Linked DNA regions of Homo sapiens: region 1 is linked to region 2. Evidence: promoter capture Hi-C in human tissues and cell types (Jung and others, 2019). All regions are on one chromosome and are shown on one strand. The core of a region is centred on a gene start or on the middle of the fragment in contact, and the rest is flanking DNA. Distances in the headings are between cores, read along the strand shown. Region 1 overlaps C2CD3 (C2 domain containing 3 centriole elongation regulator). Region 2 holds the start of DNAJB13 (DnaJ heat shock protein family (Hsp40) member B13).

What was found. Contacts are between HindIII fragments. The study calls those that stand out against the background at their distance.
Region 1: a fragment that was not itself captured here is called in contact with the fragment with the promoter of DNAJB13 in region 2 in 1 of the 25 tissues and cell types used here (aorta).

Annotation. Positions count from the first base shown.
Region 1 is chr11:74,113,996-74,117,481 of GRCh38, reverse strand. It overlaps C2CD3 (C2 domain containing 3 centriole elongation regulator), which reads left to right. Exons shown (of 33, transcript NM_001286577.2): 10 at 2,889-3,098. Among named protein-coding and RNA genes, the nearest start is that of C2CD3, 55 kb to the left of the region's middle. The HindIII fragment of the contact is 4,899 bases long and covers 1-3,486 here.
Region 2 is chr11:73,948,874-73,952,561 of GRCh38, reverse strand. DNAJB13 (DnaJ heat shock protein family (Hsp40) member B13) reads right to left here and starts at 1,536. Exons shown (of 8, transcript NM_153614.4): 1 at 1,425-1,536. The coding sequence starts at 1,492. The HindIII fragment of the contact is 16,389 bases long and covers 1-3,688 here.

The DNA.
Region 1 (3,486 bases), core at 877-3,376, 160 kb before region 2:
TTACTTCACTTAGAAAAATGGTCTCCAATTCCATCTAGGTTGCTGCAAATGCCATTATTTCATTTCCTTTTTATAGTTGAGTAGTATTCCATATATATATATATATATATATATATATATTTGAGGCCAAATGACTTAGACGATGTCACCTAATTATTTGGGTAGACTACTTTTTTTTTTTTGAGACGGGGTCTCACTATGTTGCCCAGGCTGGAGTGCAGTGGCACAATCACAGCTCACTCATATATATATATTCATATATATATATTCATATATATATATTCATATATATATATTCATATATATATATTCATATATATATATTCATATATATATATTCATATATATATATTCATATATATATATTCATATATATATATTCATATATATATATTCATATATATATTCATATATATATATTCATATATATATACACACACACGTATATATACATATACACGTATATATGTGTATATATACATATACACGTATATGTGTATATATACGTGTATATGTGTATATACACATATATACGTGTATATGTGTATATACACGTGTATATGTATATATACATACACGTGTGTATATATACACGTGTGTATATATACATATACACGTGTATATACACATATACACGTGTATATATACACACACGTATATATGTGTGTGTATATATATACGTGTGTGTGTGTATATATATACACACATATATGTATACCACAATTTCTTTATCCATTCATTGATTGATGGGCATTTAGGCTGGTTCCATATTTTTGCAATTGCAAATTGTGCTGCTATAAGCATGCAAGTACAAGTATCTTTTTCATATAGTGACTTCTTTTCCTCTGGGTAGATACCTAGAAGTAGGATTGCTGGGTCAAATGGTAGTTCTACTTTTAGTTCTTTAAGGAATGTCCACACTGTTTTCCATGGTAGTTGTACTAGTTTACATTCCCACCAGCAGTGTAATAGTGTTCCCTTTTCACCACATCCTCACCAACATTCTTTTTTTTTTTAATTTTTTATTATGGCCATTCTTGCAGGAGTAAAGTGGTATCGCATTGTGGTTTTGATTTGCATTTCCCTGATCATTAGTGATGTTGAGCATATTTTCATACGTTTGTTGGCCATTTGTATATCTTCTTTTGAGAATTGTTTATTCATGTCCTTAGACCACTTTTTGATGGGATTGTTTGATTTTTTCTTGCTAATTTGTTTGCATTCCTTATAGATTCTGGATATTAGTCCTTTGTCAGATGTATAGATTGTGAAGATTTTCTCCCATTCTGTGGGTTGTCTGTTTACTCTGCCGACTGTTTCTTTTGCTGTGCAGAAGCTTTTTAGTTTAATTAAGTCCCATCTATTTATCTTTGTTTTTGTTGCATTTGCTTTTGGGTTCTTGGATATGAAGTCTTTGTCTAAACCATGTCTAGAAGGGTTGTTCCATTGTTATCTTCTAGAATTTTTATGATTTGAGGTCTTAGATTTAAGTCCTTGATCCATCTTGAGTCGATAGTTTTATAAGGTGAGAGATGAACATCCAGTTTCATTCTTCTACATGTGGCTTGCCAATTGTCCCAGCACCATTTGTTGAATAGGGTGTCCTTTCACCACTTTATGTTTTTGTTTGCTTTGTTGAAGATCAGTTGGCTATAAGTATTTGGCTTTATTTCTGGATTCTCTATTCTGTTCCATTGGTCTATGTGTCTATTTTTATACCAATACCATGCTGTTTTGGTGACTGTGGCCTTATAGTATAGTTTGAAGTCAGGTAATGTGATGCCTCCAGATTTGTTCTTTTTGCTTAATCTTGCTTTGGCTATGTGGGCTCTTTTTTGGTTCCATATGAATTTTAACATTTTTTTTCCTAGTTCTGTGAAGAATGATGAGGGTATTTTGATGGGAATTGCACTGAATTTGTAGATTGCTTTTGGCAGTATGGTCGTTTTCATATTTTTGATTCTACCAAGATAGGTATAATTTAAATGGTTAAGGAAGAAAGCAGAATTCTAGGTTGTATGTGTACTGTGATCACAACTGTGTAGAAAATATGCATAAGGAAAGCAAATGAGAAGGAATACACAAAAGTGACAATAGTAGTTACATTAGAATAGTGGGTAACTGAAATAAGGTCTGTGTCCCTTCTAGAAAAACCTAAATTTGGAGTTTCAGTTTCTGTACTCATATGTATTGTATAATGTATGTGTGTGTATATATGTTGTGTGTGTATAAGTGTGTGTATATATATGTATGTATATATATATGTATGTATGTGTGTGTGTGTGTGTATATATCTATATAGTATTTTTAAATTTTTTTTTTACCTGGGAGCATAGATTCAAATTACCCTGAATATACACTCTCAAACCTTTAGATTATATTTTTTTTTTACATTTTTTGAGATTTCTTGTACTATAGGACCAGAATTCTGATAATAAAAGCTGTTTCCAATCCTTGATAACTTGTGAGTCAAGATACTTGGCTGGGTGTGGTTGTTCACACCTGTAATCCCAGCACTTTGGGAGGCTGAGGCAGGAGGATTGCTTGAGTCCGGGAGTTCAAGACCAGCCTGGGCAACATAGTAATATCTCATCTCTACAAAAAATACAAAAATTAGCCAAGTGTGATGACCCATGCTTGTGGTCCCAGCTACTTGGGAAGTTGAGGTGGGAGGATCATTTGAGCCCAGGAGGTCAAGGCTGCAGTAAGCCATGATCGTGCCACTGCACTCCAGCCTGGGTGACAGAGCAACACCCTGTGTCAAAAATAAAAATAAAAAAATAAAAACTTGCTGCCCTCCCTTTTTCCTCATCTTGCCTGTGCAAACTAGATTGTTTCATGTGAAGCCTGTAGCAGTATGCCTCACTGCTTGTGTGAACTCCTTTCAGAAATTTGGTTGAACAACAGATGCTCTCAGAAACTCCAGAAGATGCCCAAACGATGACACTAAGTGTGGATAGACTGGCCCTTTTGGGTAGAACACATTCAGTCAGAATCATCATCGAAACCATGGGAGTTCCTCCAGATAGTCCTCAGATGACCCCTGGCAAAAAAAGCTATGCTGGTCCACCACCTAAGGTGACTACAGCAAAAAAGCGGTATGTCTCTAACATGAGAAAGCTAAATTTGACATTTTTGGAAAGTGTGTCTGATGGTAATAATCAACAATTGCATAATACTGTGATTTGGGATGTGTTTTCATATGCATCATTTAATCTACAGAAATATATTGAATCCCTGCTATATCCCAAGAACTGTGTAAGTAAGTATGGGACTAAAGAAAATTAAGATACAGACTCTGTTCTTACATATCTTACAGTTAGCAGGAGAGAGAAACATTTAAATGGCTATCTATAACATAAAGCTTTAGGGCCCAAAATAGATGTTTTGTATTAAAATTGCTGTGGGAACACAAGAAAGGGAGCCTTTGATTCTCTCAGACAGGGTTGGTGGAAGGCTTTGAAGAAGAGGTAGGGCCTCTGAGTA
Region 2 (3,688 bases), core at 287-2,786:
ACCGCAGACTCTCCACTTATGCCACTGATCCCCTACAGGACCTGGCCCAGGAATAGGCCCATGACTGGCAACTCTGGGAGGCCTGATATCTGAACACTGGCTCCACCATTTACTAGTGCACTTGTGGGATAATAATGGCACTTAATTCTCAGGGCTGTTGTGAGGGTTAAACAGTGATGGAAAGTTCTCAGAACAGCACCTACACACTCAAAACATACACCTATTGTCACTGCCTAACTTAATTGATTGAGTTATCCTGGACTCCTCTTTTCTTCACCCTCCAGTGATCCACTTAATTACCAAGTCCATTCCCTCCCCTTTCTCTGGCCTCATCTTTTGCCTTGATTACCACGAACAGCCTCCTAAAGGGTCTCTCTCCTTCCAAGATAACTTCCACAGCCCCCCATACTTCCTCTTCTGTAACACTCATCACAGTTGTGGTGACTTATTCAACATCTATTCAGCAACAAAATCTAGCTGCATGAGGTAAGGGAGTGTCGATGTCGGATTCCGACATTTATCTCCAGCTGCTACCACTGCAGCAGGAGTGAAGTACCCTCTCAACCCTTGTGGTAGACGCTCAATAAATATTTGTTAAAAAAAAAAACATGTTTTTGGCCAGGTGCGGTGACTCACACCTATAATCCCAGCACTTGGGAAGGCTGAGGCGGGTGGATCACCAGAGGTCGGGAATTTGAGACCAGCCTGACCAAAAAGGAGAAACCCCATCTCTACTAAAAATACAAAATTAGCTGGGCATGGTGGTGCATGCCTGTAATCCCAGCTACTTGGGAAGCTGAGGCAGAAGAATCGCTTGAACCCAGGAGGTGGAGGTTGCGGTGAGCCGAGATCACGCCATTGCACTCCAGCCTGGGCAACAAGACCAAGACTCCGTCTCAAAACAAAAAACAAAAACATGTTTTCAGAAAAATGTACTGACTCCTGTTGTAGGCTTTCTTAGGAACGAGCCAGAACGTCCTTAAGATCCGATGGAAGTATTCAGGAATGTAGTTTAGTCAATGCTGAAAACCTCCATCATGGCCAGAATTGAATTTAAAACATCCATCTGGCCTGGCCACTCCCTTGTTCACAAGCCTCTGGTTCTCCATAATATTCAAGATAAAGTTCAAATGGCTCCTTTGTCCCCACTTCATTGCTGGGAAAAGCAAGGCACCCAGGAGAGGATATAGGGCATGGAGCATAAAGGGAGATGGGTTGGGAGCAGATTGAGGAACTAAAGAGTTCAAATTTCCAACCTGGGCCCTGACCCAGACCAAAGCCAGGATACAGGTATGCAAGAAGTGAAAGGAGGAACAAGGTTTACCTTGTCTGCGCTAAGCTGTGCAGGAAAGCTCGTTTTGGAAGAGAAGAGGGCAGGGCCTGCCCCAGCACACCCCTAAGGCCTGGCTCCCACCCCAACTTACGCCTGCTTGATCTGGGCATCCTCTGAATTGCGAGTGATCCCGAGCACAGAGTAATAATCCTGGCCCATGGCTGGCTAGCTGGCAGTCAGGCCCTGGATAGTCCTCAGACTCTAGCAAGGCTGTTAGTTGGCTTCCTTGGTTGCTCCTGACAACCGCACAGGTGCACTCTGGGAGTTGTAGTCCCACTTCCCTAAACAAATTTCAGCTCTGCCACAGAGAGGAGTCAGTGAAAGGACTGGGGGAGAGCTGGGGCTGATTCTGCGACCCTGTGAAAGGTCACTCAACTCGGAAATTGAAGACTCACAGGGCTCTGTTTTATTTTGTTTTTGTTTTTAAAGAGAGCAGTAATTAGTTTTAATAAAAAGGTTTTAGAAGAAATGCATTTGGCTAATTTTTTAAAAATACATTTATTTTAGAACAGTTTTAGAGTTTAGAAAAGTTGAGAAGACAGTACAGAGAGTTCCCATATACCTCACATCCACATTCTCCTATTTTATTATTATTATTATCATTATCATGTTTTTGAGACAGGGTCTTCACTCTGTCACCCAGGCTGGTGGGCAGTGGCAGGATCACACCTCACTGCAGTCTCAACCTCCCAGGCTCAAGGGATTCTTCCACCTCAGCCTTCCAAGTAGCTGAGACACAGGCGTGCACTACCATGCCTGGCTAATTTTTGTATGTTTTGTAGAGATGGGGTTTCACCATGTTGCCCAGACTGGTCTTGAACTCTTGGGCTCGGCTTGGCCTCCCAAAGTGCTGGGATTACAGGTGTGAGCCACTGCATTCACATTCCCCTATTATTAACATCTTACATTAGTATGGTACATTTGTCACAAATAATGACCAATATTGATACATTATTATTAACTAAAATCCACATTTTATTCAGATTTACTAGTTGTTTTAACCTAATATCTTATTTCTGTTCCGGACCCCATCCAGGATGCCACGTTACACTTAGCTGTTGCATCTCCTCTGGTGCCTCCTGACTGTGACAGTTTCTCAGACTTTCCATGTTTTTGATGACCTTGACAGTTTAAGTAATAATGGTCAGGTGTTTTGTAGAATGTCCTGCAATTGGAATTTGTTTGGTGTTTTTCTTTTTGTTTGTTTGTTTTTGTTTTTTGAGATGGAGTCTCACTCCATCGCCCAGGCTGGAGTGCAGTGGCACAATTTCAGCTCACTGCAACCTCTGCCTCCCGGGTTCCAGCGATTCTCCTGCCTCAGCCTCCCAAGTAGCTGAGATTACAGGCATGTGCCACCATGCCCGGCTAATTTTTGTTATTTTTACTAGAGACGGGGTTTCACCATGTTGGCCAGGCTGGTCTCAAACTCCTGACCTCAAGTGATCCACCCACCTCAGCCTCCCAAAGTGTTGGGATTACAGGCGTGAGCCACCGCGCCAGCCCTCCTTCCCCACTTGCTGTATTGCACTCTTTGGAAGGCAGTCACTGTGCGGCCCACCCTTACAGTGAGGGAGTTATGCTCCACCTCTCTGAGTACAGCAGAGCCCTGTTTTCCATGCACATCCCAAATCCAACTGGTCACCAAGCTCAGTCCATTCTGCTTCCTAGACAACCTCTCAAGCCCAGCTCCTCTGCTCTTCCTCCTCATAATCAGGGCCCAGCTCTGGATTCATCTTTCAGCAAGACCACAACAACTTCCTCGCGGGCCTGCCTGCCTTGTCTCTGTTCTGCAAAGCCCACACTCCTCATTACTTCGAGTGAACTCCAAACTGCTTACCATGGCACACAGGCCCTCTGTGATCTGGTGCCTCCCTTTCCACCTGAGCTCTCACCACTGCCCTACACGCACCCACTGCTTGTCAGAATGGACTGCAGTGCCTGCCACTGCCCAAACCAGCCATCCCCTCTCCTCATTCACCTCTGCTGCTACCTCTGCTCAGAACCTCCCACCCCACCCACCACAGACCCTCGCCTCAACCCAGCTAACTTCTATTTGTTTTTTCTTCTTAGGAAGAAAAAGAGCAGCATTAGAACATTCCTTGTTGAAGGAATATTGCCCCGATGTGCCCCTCCCTACCTGTTTGTAATTCTCTTGCTTTTCTTTAGAGCTTTACTCCATATGCCTGTACCCAGTGGTGTGCTGTTTTGTGGCATTTGCCAGTTCTTCCCAAGCCAGTACAAGCCAGCTCCAGTGCCACACTGCAAATATCCACAGCAACATATTTACCTTTTCATATTTTTGAACTTTATATAAATGGTATCATTTATACAAATGGTAGGTATTTGTGTGTGTGA